Regions from separate parts of the Homo sapiens genome. Here region 2 is linked to region 1. The links are contacts of gene promoters, found by promoter capture Hi-C in human tissues and cell types (Jung and others, 2019). All regions are on one chromosome and are shown on one strand. Each heading gives the region's core, a stretch centred on a gene start or on the middle of the fragment in contact. The rest is flanking DNA. Distances are from core to core; before and after follow the strand shown.

Region 1 (6,941 bases), core at 4,223-6,722:
GTGAATTTTCTTTGCCTTCGTGTTGACCTATTTTTATGTTTATTTTGTTTGAACAGAAAACCAATTATGTTCTTTAGAGTATATACTTGTGTCCATTTTCTTTTAAAGAAAAACTGTCCACATTCACATAAAGGTCTGATTTTCCCCAAACCCTTATCAGAAATCCTGGGGTGTACCTTTTTTCTGTAATAGTGTTCATGGATTTATGAAAAGTTATCTTTCAGTATCCCTTGAGAAAATAGAAAGTCAAGGACGAGCTTCTTGCAAGGACTTAACTGGGAGTGACTTAACGTGTCATTTTTAGAACTAATATTAGGTTAATTTTCCCAGAGAGAACAGAAGGGAAGAAAAGAGACTGTGGAAGGGAATGAGATTCCCACAGGCTGTTCAGAGAACTGTACTCTGTCCAGGAGTTTACAATGATCTACTCCGCAGCATCTCTTCAGATAGCTCCATTTCTTGCTTTTGGGGAAGCAGTGTCAGCAGCTATCATCACTCTGAGTTCAAAATTATTGACCTTTAGTTTCTTTTACATCTAGATTTCTTTGCCAACGGTTTGTAGAATTGAAAGTCAAGGAATAATACTTATTTTCTATGAGCTAAAAGCTGCTCTAATTGTAACCTGTAGTATATATTATCCTCATTTTTACATATGAGGAAACTAAGGCACGGAAACGTTAAATGTCTTGCTCATAGTCACACAGCTGGAGGTGCTGGAAGCAGTATTAGGAAACATTGGTAATCACTATGTTAACTGACAGAATGGGCATACACCATTAACAGCTCTTAGCCTGTGCCTCCCCAGAGCCAGATGAAACTTGCATTAAATCTAAGTAAAATGCTGTTGCAACGCAAACTTAGCTTCAAGAACATACAACTTCCAGCCAAATCACTGCTCCCACGTTCTTCTGTGTAGAAATTTTAGAACCCCCCACCCACCACTCACATTAGAATCCTAGCTTCACCTATGTTTACTATCTTCGGATGTCTGAATCCAGAAAGTACTATACCTGTGTCCGCTTTTATACTTAAGAAAGTGAATTATAATTCCATGGTTCTACTTCTGTCTTCCTGTAGGGCTTAAACTGCCTGGTTACATTCCGTTTCTAACAAATAGCATTCAGCCTAGGATGCAATATGAGTGCACAATAATTGCTTAAGAACTTTACTTCTAATACCATACTCTATCCATAGAAGCCATTGTTTCTAATTTGTGAGGAAATGTGAACAGGTTTGTTTTTAACTGCCACAAATATAAAAGTCAAACTAAAAAAATATGTAGGCTAAAACTTCAAGGCAATAGCACTGGCTCAATCTCAACCCCCACAATTTTCCCCATTATCTTCCTAAAGTGGTTGCAGCCTGTAATTTTAATGTTTCTTCTGAGAGTGACTCCCTCTGCTGCTTCTGCAAAGCCATGACCTAAATCAGAAAAGTGTTAAACGCAGTTAAGGCCTAATAGAGCACACTTGCTGTTGGCACTAATTGGAGAACCTAGCATACATTAGAGAACAGTTATGTTTAAGTCTCAACAATAATTCTAAATAAGCTAACAGGGTTTACTTAGCAGAGCTCATGCCTTGTTCATGTCCTTAGGGGGGGTTGCTTAAAATAGACCCATACAAGTTCTGACTAGGACAACCAGCTCCAAACTACAATAGGAGGTGTTCGAGGACCCTGTCTTATTTAACTCTTTACCCTCAGTATCCAGAATACAGGAGTCCAGGGAGTCAATAAATGTCAGTTATAATCTAATGATTCCTAATTCTTTGCAAGTGTTTGAAAAGTTTATTCTTTGAAGATTTTAAGCATTCTCTAAGCTAGAATACACAAAATTATTTTTCTAAACAGAAGTAAACTAGCCTACTTTTCCTTATTGCATATTCCTAATGTGAATTCATAAACTTTCTGTACTCCTACAATGAAAAAGTATACGATAGAATTGTAATGAACTTTAGTTGTCTTCACTGTTGACTGTCTATTTGTACCACACCAATATGCAAACATGCATAAAGGAATTTTTACTCTTTTGTAGGAAGACATATGTTATTTAAAAAAAAAAACTATGAATTAAGATAATAGGGAATTATCCCAATCTAATTAGAGACTTCAGTAATTTTTTGTCCTGAGTTTGGTGGTGTTAACACTCATAACACTAGTTGGAGCTAGATAAGCAGCATATCAATGCTGTGTAGCCCAGATAAAATGCATTTATAAACCAGGAGGGTCCTAATTCAGAAGCACACTGATCTCACACACACGCGCGCGCGCGCACACACACACACACACACACACTGCCTTTTACTAGTAAAATCTTTCATTCTTGGAAGTCACAAACACTACAAATTCCCTGGAGCTAGGAGTTCCCAGCAATCCTGAATGAAACAATTAGGGCATAGCCAGAAAGGAGAAAGTTGTTGCCTACAGCCTAGAGAATTTCCCAAGGACCTATTGAAAATGACTGCTGCCTAAACCACAGTTACAAAACTCAGTACACTCACAAATAATGCCTATTCTATGTTTTATCTTAAATATCTGTTGTTTCCTTGATTATCTCTGAAGATATATATACATACTTCTAATTTTTGCAGTACTTCAGCAACAGAATAAAAACCTCATCCACATTGTAAAGTGCTTAAAGTAACTTTCCCATGTTAATTGCTCTTGGACTTTCATTCATAAGAAATAGTTCATTTGGATCTTTAAGTCATCACCACAAGGAAATCATACCTTGAGGGTATGGGCTAGTGTTCTAGTCCAAGGAAAGGAGAAAGAAGAAGAATAAGAAGGAAAAGGAGGTCTGACTATCAGACCATTTATAAAATGTGTGATTCTGCAAGGAAAGTGTTAACGGTGGCTCAAGATAAACAGGCTGGGTTACTGTACTGCAGTGATGAAGGTAGTAGCTGATAGTGGAGTTTGGTGCTTTATCCTTCCTTTGATAACTAACAGACAACACAGGAAGAGCTGCTATCCCTGGAACATGGAGGATAACAAAGATAAAAGCGGTGGAATAGTGCATTTTACAGACCATGAGATTCAAACAAAAATTTTACTAATCAAAAACTGAAGGAACTAAATAAACGAAATGGACAAGAACTGCAGTGAAATGCATACACCCAACGGAGTACATTTTCTTTTTCCACTTAAGATGAGAATCAGTCCCCAATCTTTAACTTGCCTACGCTACAAAAAGTGCAAGAGAAAAAGTCTATCCTAAGCATCTTTTCTTTTTAATCTCTTCTCCCTTCTTCTTTCAATATTAATCCATTTACAATCTGCTGTTTGATTATCTTTATTGATCCTTTTTCTACCCAGTCTTTTTAATTTGGTTATTGTAAGCTCTTAGCAGGAATCCTATCTCTTGTTTGGCATCTTTGGGGACTTTAACTTGTCTTTTTCCCAAACAGTTCTCTCACCGTGCCCCGTCCCCCTCTCCCGCCACCCACCCCCATGGCTCAGTCCTTTGTATGCCCAGTAACAGCAGGCGAATTCCACAGGGAGTCGCGCGGTTGATTCCACGACTATTCATAAGGTTGTTCACTTAAGCTTCCAAACACCCCCCTCTAAGCACCCTTGGCTAGCGCCCTGAGAACTTCTTATCAATTTTAGGAAATCCACAAGCTATGATTCTCGGTGGAGATTCCTTTTTAAATAGACAGACAGATGAACTCTGGAGGTGTGCATAAGAAAACCAGAGCAGAACCTCAGGGATGGGAGGCATCTGGCGAGAAAGGAAGGAAGGATTTATGAGCAGGGCCACTTAGCAGGGCAGCAGGAAAATTTACTTCCGAAGAAGCTATCGCTAATTCACAAAGCCTTGCTAATCACTTACCTCTCCACCCAGACCGCACTCCTATGCTAGGCGCTCTCCTCCGCTTCCAACACCCCCATCCCCACCCCCAGCGCCTCTCTAAGATCAGAGGGAATGCTGTCCGGAAACCCTAGGGTGTCTGAACATCACCTGGGGAGTTGGGGCTATCGTAAAGCCTCCCTTTACTCTCCAAATTTGGAAGGAAGAGTAACCGAGAGTGAAGGGAGAATCCCTGAATTGCCTCTGAATGCTGCATAAGCTTCCTTCATTCTCTCCTCTTCCAGGAAAAGCTGAGCTGCCTCGCCTGAGCCGGCTATCACCACTGAAGTGGGCTAAGAGACCCAAGTAGGAGCTGGGCTTGGCCAGAAGTTTTGGGGCCCAGGTGACCTGAAAGAGACCCCGGAGGGGACAGCCTTGGCTCTTTCTTCTGCGCTCCCTTCCAGTCAGCTTTCCCGGCTTTGAAGGCTGGGAGCTGCTGCTAACACTTCAAACTAGGCGGACAAGAAGGGAGCCGGGCGATCAGCTCCGGAGCCTCCCCTCCTCCCTTACCCATCCCCAACTCCCGGCCACACTCTTCCCAACCCGGCTTCGCCCAGGGCCCCGGTCACTTATGTTAAAGTTCACAGGCGTTAAATTAAAATGTCAGAGTTATAAACTGGTCGACTACCCCGGGGAGTTTCGGATTTGGTTTGAACAAGCAGCCGGTTCCCCCAGAGCTCCGGGATTTTCATTTCTACATCCCCTGGTGGGAAGCAGGCATGAAGCGGGGTATGTATGAGTGCAGAGGCATGCACATCCCGGGCCTGCCTCCAGCCGGGTACGCGGATTCGGGTGAGCTGTGTATTTCCACAGCACCTGAAGCAGCAGGCGAGGGGGACGGGTGCTTTTGAGTCCTTGACAGTAATGGACACATTTCCTTAGCTGAGCGCCCTTCGGGGTCTAGTGTGCTCAGAGACTCAGTGAAGATCCTGCTACCCCAGTCTTGGCACAGCGCGGGGAGCCTCTGCGCATCATGCGCTTCGGGGTGCATCTACGGTATGTCACACAGCCACCCGCACCGAGAGTCTTTCCAAACCTCCGTGTGTGCAATATGCAACAACGTGCGCGTGCGGAGCTGAAAGGGCACAAGACACTCCAGGCTCCCACACGTATGGAGACGGATCGGCTGCGTGTCCACACCCCGTTCGTCCCTGGTCCATTCGTGCCCATCTCAGAAGATAGATTAAACATAATAATAATAATAATTATTATTATTATAATCAAAGCTTCTTGACTAGTTGGGAAAGTGGAATTTAGAGTGGTTTCCAGTTGAAAGCAACGAGGCAAATTGAGGAAGTCAAGAGAACTGGGGAGGAGGAGAGGAAGGAGGGAAGGAAGAAGCTAAGGGAGGTGGCCGCGGAGCTTGGCGGACCCCCTTACCTTGGGCGGCGGAGCCAGTGCCGCTGGCGCTGAGCAGGGCCAGGGCAGGTAGCACGAGCATTTGCAGCAAGTATCCCAGTCCCAGTCCGCAGCGGGCCGCTGTCGCCCGCAGACCTTTCCTCATCGTAGACAGAGGTGTGCCGGGGGGAGGGGAGGGGGACAGAGAGACGCGCAAACAGCTGAAAGCCCCACTGGGCAGAAGCTGAATCCGTGCACCGCGAAGCAGTCCGAAGAAATAACGACAACCAAGCGCCACACTCCACTTTCTCCAAAGGCAGGGGCCAAAAGGGGGAGGAGAGGAGACGCCGAGGAGGAGTTTGAAGGTCCCTCTTTCCCAATGCCTTCTAACTGACGTCTCCCGCGAGCGACTGCTCTGCCCCCACTTGGGAAGTCCAGGGAGGCGCAAGGCGGCCACCTCCGCCGCTCCCCCCAGCAGCAGGAGCAGCCGCAGCTCCGCCGCACGCCGAAGTCTGGACTGCTCTCCGGGTCCCCTCGCCTGTGAGGAACACACACAGACACCGGGGGTGGGGGTGGGGGTGGGGGTTGAAGTGGGGGGAGTTGGAGGAGGAGGGAACGGAGGGAGGAAGCTTGGGCACCGTCAGGCGCTCTGGTCTCCAATCTCAGTGTTCTCACGCCGGCGGAGAGATGTCCCGGCTGTCGCTGCTGGGTGGCCAAGGAGGTTCACATCCTAGAGTAGGGCGCACGGGTGCGCGAAGGCGCTCGCCAAGGAGGCGTAGAGGGCGCAGCACAACTCCTCTGGGGGGTAACCGGGGGCGGGAGCACGCCCGCCCGCCTTATGTAAGCAAGGATTGCAGGGAGATCAGCGCCCAGGAGACCAGCTGTGGGTTTGCCCGCTGAAGCCGAGGCGAGACAGACCAGGGGACGAAGCGGCTGCGGAGAGTGGCAGCGCGCCTGCCTCCCGCGGTGCGCCAGACCTGGACGCCGGGAGTGCAGCGGGCGCGCCCCGGGCCACTAGGCTGTGTCCAGTGGAGCTCAGCCTGCCGCCTGCCACCTTCTTCGCCGCGCCGGCAAAGCCTCAGCCGAATTCCCTAGGACTGGACTCGGTCTACGACTTCGGGTCTCGCGGTTGACGAAGCCGGTGCGGGCTCGAACTGAAGTCCTTCTTGGTTGGGGAAGAAGGCATGAAGCTTTTGCACTGCCCCAGCCGGCTGCTGTCCTGGGGTTGTCAGCGCCAGTCAGACTGCTTTATGTTCTGAGCGCGTATGACCCCTTTGCAGTGGAACAGAAACTAAAAGCTCGACGGAAACTCATTCTGCAACAGTGCTTTCTTTGCGTGCATGTTGGTGGCTGACAAGGGTGGTGATGCGATACCGAGAGAAACTCTCTTAGAAAAAAAAAATGCAAAGCAAAATTTGTAGATACTCAAAGTGATGGTGGAGCCTATAACATGTTTTTCAAATTTCTAATAGTGTGTGTAAGAACTCGAGCTGCTATGAATTTGTTTACCTTTCTACAGGAAATAATTGTCTACGTAGCTGGGTTGTGAATCCCTGTGGTCATGATGGAGGGATGCAAGATTGGGTGGGTAAAATAAGACTAGACAAAAGGAAAGTGAATTTATTAAAAGGTCAACACACAGACACAGACAACATTTTGGGAAAAAGAAAATCACTTCCCAAGATTAGCATGTCTTTAAACTAATAATACATCAGGGAATTTTATGCTCTTGGTGCCAAGGGGGCCATGT
Region 2 (7,302 bases), core at 3,032-5,531, 46 kb before region 1:
TAACAATATTTTGAATAATCATTCTTTTTGAGTTGTTTTATTCAGCCCCATGCACAACTTTGCTTACCAGTTGTAATGATCTTTGAGTTTCTTATTTTCTAGCCTCAAATCAGAATTATATAGTATTAATTATTTTAGCAAAAGGAAAGATCATTCAGTAAGCCATAAGCAAAGGAAAGCAAGAGTAGCTGTACTTAAAATTAAACATTTTCCTTTGACTAGTTGAAAAGTGTTACATAAAAAAGGAAAACATTCCATCTTTTCTAAAAACACTGAATGAGATACTCCTTACCAAAGTACTCTAAAAAGTAAAAAGTGTATACAAATGTTAGCTGATGCTAACATATAATGGTACGATTTTTTCTTCACTGATTTGTTGTATCCCAAACTTTAAGCCAATCTCTACATATTTATAAAATTTTAAAAACAGTGAAAAACCCCTTCTGTTTTATCGTTTTATTCCTTCCAAAAATGTTTTCAGATTGGAACATACAGTGTTTTTTTTTTTTCCTTAGGATCATATATCACTATAACTGAATTCAAATTTTGCCTTTAAAATTTTATTTTGGAGTTGATTTGTATGAAATGACATGTAAAACTTCATAAGGATTCTAAGTTTGGTCAAGACACATATAATCGCTATTTCAACTACTGATACTTTGCTATCTTTTGCTGCAACAAATCTACTGTCTTATTAAAATAAAAATGTACTTCTCCAAACGTACTTGTGCTTAATTTTTTCCAGAGCAAGTTTAAAATATTCACTATTAGAAGAGTCTTGATAATGAAACCTCTTTTTCCTCATGGACATGGAAGAAAACTAAAGCTTTACAGGAGACCTGATGAAATGCAGACTCAAGTAAGAAAAATATTTTAAGGTATAAAGTTTTAAAATATACTTCTTATTCTAGGACAGCTATCATTCATTATGTAACTTCCAACTTGAGAAAAGGTTGGAATCTGGTTATTCTTCAAGTCCAAGTTAGAAGGAATACTCTGGATATAATAGGTGGAGGTTTAAAAGTTGGCTTAACACCCTTAGGCAACTGCAGACCTGGTCACTGTCCCATCAGGAATGTTTTGAAGGCCAATAAACCACTCAGCCCCTGCCCTGTCTTTATAAATAATTCTCACCGGCTGTGGAGCAATGCTGGATGTGGCTTTCAGCTTCACCATGGTTACTTGAGAGCATTCTCAGGTATTGCTTCTATCCAAGCAGCCTTTGCCTCTGTGGGAAACCCCAGTGATATTCTGGGAGAAGTGGCAAGGGCAGGTAGCATGACCATTCTCTTCTCTGGAAATCTCACTCCCATGCACTTTTCATGCAATCAATCATGAAGAAAAGGTCAACAGACAGCTTTCAAATAATGGATTTACTTACCTACTGACACTGATCTGGCGAGAGAAGTGAAGTTGTGGGGAGAAAAAGGGAGGAGCACAGGAGTCAATTACAGGAAACCTAAACCCCTTCAGTCTTCCAGGGAGACCAAACACACTCCAGTAAGCTCCCTCCCCTTGATCACAGGTATCTGCCAAAGCTATTAAGGTAAGTTTACATTGATGTCCGGTTAGAAGTTGGAGGTATGTATGTGCACATATATAAGATGGGAGCACTGGGGAGGAAAAGATAGATATTAAAGAACTGTCATTCACTGTGGAAATTAACAAAAAAGGATAGGCTGTGTTTCAGGGAGGTTAACTGTCTATACATCCTAGGCCATTCAGTGCAGATTTAAATTTCAGGAAACAGTAGGCACATGAGGATAATCCCTCCATCCTTGGAAGACTTAATACACCTTTAGTGTCTGACTCAATAGTAGATGAACTAAAGGTAGTTTGACCAGTAAAACCAATTGACATGGAAACTTAATATAAATGATAAAAACGTAGGAGTTTTGTTTTGGGATCAGCCAGTCCTATAACACCCAGTTCACAGAAGTGCTGCAGGATTTTCTTTTTAATATTAATAGAACATAAATATTATTTCCATTTTGGTTTCATTCTTAGCACCTTATCATGCCACAACGAATAAATAGTTAGATGGTCTCCAGTTTTGAAGGAGTTTAAAGTCCTACAAACCTTATTCTACCCATTTGGTTTCTTGCCAGACAATAAATTCCATGAGAACAGGGACTATAGAAGTGTTTTGCTCAATATGATGGCCCTTGTGCTTATACAACAATGTCTGGCCATATTAAGTTCTAAAAAAAACAAGCTAGTTATAAAAAATGGATGAGTTCCCAAAAAACTCTGCCTGCTAGAGCCACATTAATAAGTTTTTTCCTAACCTTTCTAAACATTGGTCATGTTTATATGGATTACTTTTGTTTTGGCATCGAAATAATAAAATCAGCACCCTTGATCCAAGGTTCCTCAGCTGCATAAACAACAACTTGCTCTTATTTTGATTAAGGAGAGCTATTATATGTTCTTCCTCAAGCTATTAGTCTACTAGGAACATGTTGTAATTTATAAGGCCTATCAAAACTTTCCTTTTACTAAAATGAATAGAAAATTAATGCAGCCAGGCAGAAAGCTCTGTTAGCTAATAGTTTTTAGCATTTTCTCCTTTGAGATGCTAGAGAGCAATTTTCATTTACTGGTTATTTAAGGAAGAAAAATTCAGTCCCACTGATATCACCTTGATTGGGTTTATGTACAAATACCGTATATTTTTTCCCTTGGGCATATCATGTGCTATTACATGGAAAAGAAATGTTACAACTTTCTAACATCAATAGCTATTTTAGATACTACTGCATGATCATTAGTCGAAAAACTCTTAGAATAATACTACTCCCTGTGTGTTAATAAATATTTGTAGAATTTAGGTAATTTGGGGTGGAATTAAAACACCAAACTCATAAGCACTGAAAGAGATGGAATTCTACTTCTGCATTAAAATACAGGTACAAATTAATGTTCTTACTTAAGTTCTTGGAAGGTGCTTTATAGACGCAATAAATACATGATAGTACAATTAGGTTTTGCTTTTTAATGACATATAAGCAGCTAGCCCTCTGTTCAGTGTGGGCTTGTGTTCTTTAAAAGAACTAGCTAGAGGCATTTTTTTTATTGGCTCAGAATTCTGAAAACTAGACTATAATTTAGGGCTTTTTTGGTCAGCAACAAGTATCAATCATTCCACAAATACAGTATTTACACATAATTTTGCTATTTAATTAAGAGAAGTTAAAAGAAGTTTGCTTTTTAAGGAGGCTAACAATGTCCATTTGCAACATATTTTTTGTTACTAATTAGCTTAACAAAACTTTTCATAGGGCAAAGGTCATTTTCAACCTAACAAATATGAATATTGTTACATGCTAATGAGTGCAGAAATCTCCATCACTATTGTTAAATTAATAAATTATTTGGCTCCTCTTATTACATGTGTATGGATTAGATGCTGAAATACAATAATTTTGAAGTAAAGTGGTTTTAAAAATAATAAACTATAGCTTGTGAAAGTATTATAAAGGCAAATCAGAGAATCCAGGAACACATATAAACCCAAGGATTCTTTTGTCTGTTATAGTTCTTTTTTCAGGATTCAGTTTTGAGGGAGTTTTGAATTTCACGTCTGATGCTACCTTTGAAAATATTCTTACAGTGATGAATGACCTCTTTCATGTAAAACAGTTTTTGAAAAATATATACATATATTTACCAAAGCTTCCTTCCTCTTATGTTGGAAATATTTATTTTTTGATTGGAAGCCTGTGGTGATTCAGCCACAGCAGAAGAAGAGAGGACTTTTCTTTTCCCTTAGTGTTATGTTGACAAATCAGCCTCTGAAGAAGTGACCACTGTTTTATTTCTTCTAAAAGTATGGCCCATTAGTTGAGGAATGTTTAAAATTCGTATCATGGTGCTGTGTTCTTACTTCATTACTAGTTTTGACAAAAGTAAAGGAGCATTTACAGTTGGTCTTTTAATGACGAACATGTTACTTCCAGTGTGATTGGTTGCAACAATGGATTATGACTGGCCCCCAATCACCTTGTAAAAACTGGATTAGAAACTTTATTAGAAATGTAACAGAAAATAATTATCATATAAACTTTTTTTTAAAGAGGCAGGGTCTTGCTCTGTTGCCCAGGCTGCCTGCAGTAGTGCAATCATAGCTCTCTGCCGCCTTGAACTCCTGGGTTCAATCGATCCTCCCCTTTCGGCCTCCCAAGCAGCTGGGACAACAGTTGCACACCACCATGCCCAGCTTATTTTTAAAATTCTTTTGGTAGAGATGTGGTCTTGCTTTGTTGCCCAGACTGGTCTTTAAACTCCTGGCTTCAAGCCGGCCTCCAGCCTCAGCCTCCCAAAGTGTTGAGATTATAGGGGTGTGCTCGGCCAACATTTTTTGACTTATATGGACAAACATTTTGTGCTAGACTTACATTTAATCTGAGCAGTTACACGACAATGCATATAATGCTCAGCACAGGCTTGACACACACGTGGAAAGCACTCAGTACATGTCAGTTACCATTTTCATTATTACTAAAAATGAAAATAGACAGTTTTATTGTATGAAAATCTTAATAAAATTGTTCCCTGTAACTTCCTCTTAGGGAAAAGCACAGATTTAAGTTCAGGTTATATTGAATATTATAGTGGTATTAACTATTACCATAATCTTTAAAATTTCTCTCCCGCAAAGAATCGCACAGATATCACATCCAAGATTATTCAAATGATGTTATCCTGGACTCTGACTAACCTTACATTTGCTCTTTGTCCATTACAAAATTTACTCTTTTAACTTTTATTTATATTCACTAAGTGTATTCCATATCTTAACTTCCTATTCAGTGAAAAAGTTTGGTTCATATGTGCTATGGCTTGAATGTGTCTCCCAAAATTCATGTGTTGGAAACTTGATCCCCTATATAACAGTATTGACAGGTGGTCTTTTAAGAGGTGATTAGATCATGTAGGCTCAGCCTTCATCAATGAATTATTGTTGTTACTCTAGAGTGGGTTTGTTACAAAAGAGAGGCCCCTTCTTGGTTTCTCTCTCATGTCCTTTCTCACCCTCTCCCCTTTCACCATGGAATAACACAGCAAGAAGGCCCTAGAAAGTTGCCGGTACCTTAATATTGAACTTCCCACCCTTCAGAACTGTGAACTTTTTTTCTTTTTAAATTGGCCAGTCTGTGGTATTCTGTTATAGCAACACAAAATGAACTAAGACAATATGTCACCCATTTTCTTCAAGTTTGTAATTATTGGACAATACATCTCTTCTTTTGTAACATTAATAAGTTGGCTTTTATTTTGATTTGTAATTGTAATTTATTGTCTATTAGAGAGTCATTTGACATAATTTTCTAATGCAACAAATTCAGTTCCTTTTTTCTAATATCATCTGGCTGCCATCAGGACACAAACCTTCTGAAAGAATAGATGTCAAATAAAATAAACCCTTTAGCAACTTTATTAAAAGATGCTAAAATAATAGAATAATCAACATGCTTTATGTACTTTTTATTATATTTCTGTCCTTTTACTTGAAGAATATTCAAAACCATTTAGCCAACTCTTTAAGAAAAGCATAAAATAGCATGGCCCCTCATCACTCCTCCAAATTCCTCATTGTTGGCTGTCAGTTAAGACCGCTTCCATCTGCTCCCCCACCATTTCACTTATATTCAGTGAAAATTTTTCACTTGTATCCTTGATATAACAAAACAAATTCTAGTTTCAGAATTCTATGGCATTTTCTTCTCTTTCACCACAGTCCCTAATTATCAGTTCACATCAGTCCAAGAGGAATTTCAAATTTATGTCATTAATCAATCACCACTATGTAATATCACTAAGAATCCTAAACACTTATTTCCTACAGTTTTGTAATGCATGATTTTATCTTAACTCCACATATGTTAGCAGTAAAACATGACTCCTATTCTTGAAGTCCCACCGACATTTTCTATGAAATAATGAACATTCAGTGGATGGTAATATAAGATGGCACTTCCTGGTCCTCCAGTTTTTGGCAAATGTATTTCATTTTTCTTTGTCTTTGAACACTTAGGGCTTCTGCCTCTTACTTACTGCAAACAGCACTCCCCTCTGAACAAGCTTACCCACCGCTCAGTTCTAAATACAGCAAAAAAGCAAACAGCACTTTTAGCATTTCTTTAACTTTCTGTCTTCAAATTCCTAGTTGTCCATTTGGGGCAACTATCATTTCCTCTTGACCCAAGTCTGTGGCAGATACATGTAAAGAACATATATATGTGTTATATGAATCACATCTTTGTAAACTAAACTTCTCAATAGCACTCTTGAAAAAGCTAGCATAAATTATAATCATGATCAAGGTACTGAATAATTCAGGGGGTATTTCATTACGGATTTTGTCTATTATTTAAAGGCAAGGAGAAAATTCTTTTAAATTGGAGAAAAACACACGTCACTTCAGGTCTACAAATATAGTAACAAAATTGAGCTGTGGTTTCAAAAAAATGCTGACACATTATAACAAGGCACGAAAAATTAACCTTTGTGCCAAAATCAAATTAACAGCTCTTTAAAAAGCTTTTGCAAAGATATTACATATGCATATATGTGTGCATACCCTCATTAATATGAATCATCAACTAATGTCTTTGCCCTATGATGTCATTCATTGCAGTTTAAATTTGGGGGTGGTCTGTTTTATAGTTTTTATGATCTTATGATATTAATTTTTATTTTTTATACAATTGCTTTCATTAAAAAACTTCTATATTTTTAAGGTGTTCAAATGCAACCCATCTAAAATAAGAGACTTACGCTTATTTACCCAAGTATTCCAATAATCTCTTACTAAATAAAAATGACAACGCTATATATGACAGGGGCTCAAAGAGAAAAATCAACAAATATTCACTTCTTAATTTCAGAATTTTGCTCCCTGCTTTAACTGGTCCGTTATCAGAATTTGATTCTAATTATTCATTGGCAAGGAACAATTTATTGATTAAGAACAGTAGCAAATGAACAACTTACGGCCTCCAAAGTGTAACCACCCTGGTACAGGTCAATAGAACTAGGCAAACAAGAGGCCAATTCAAGAGTTCCTGTCCAATTTCCTTCCACAGCCAGGTCTTTATGAGCGAGCAGTCATGGAAAAGATCCTAGAAAAATAAACTGTGGAAACATTTCAGCAACTTAATTGAGATTTTGCAAGGCTCTCAAAGCCTGCATTGTTATAACCCACTCTCATCAAAGACCATGATTCAGCTTTAGAAATGGAGCTATTCAAACCCTGCTGTATTAGCCATATATCTTAGGAATTTACTTCCTAATTATGCA

Evidence for each region. The method cuts DNA at HindIII sites, captures the fragments that hold promoters and counts their contacts. A contact is called where the count stands out against the background at its distance.
Region 2: a fragment that was not itself captured here is called in contact with the fragment with the promoter of UNC5C in region 1 in 1 of the 25 tissues and cell types used here (hippocampus).

The regions. Positions count from the first base shown.
Region 1 is chr4:95,543,501-95,550,441 of GRCh38, forward strand. UNC5C (unc-5 netrin receptor C) reads right to left here and starts at 5,473. Exons shown (of 16, transcript NM_003728.4): 1 at 5,234-5,473. The coding sequence starts at 5,357. It overlaps UNC5C-AS1 (UNC5C antisense RNA 1), which reads left to right and starts at 5,648. Exons shown (of 5, transcript NR_183914.1): 1 at 5,648-5,731. RefSeq lists an enhancer at 5,915-6,044. The HindIII fragment of the contact is 1,524 bases long and covers 4,577-6,100 here.
Region 2 is chr4:95,498,213-95,505,514 of GRCh38, forward strand. The region is part of intron 1 of UNC5C (unc-5 netrin receptor C); the gene reads right to left. Among named protein-coding and RNA genes, the nearest start is that of UNC5C, 47 kb to the right of the region's middle. The HindIII fragment of the contact is 4,063 bases long and covers 2,251-6,313 here.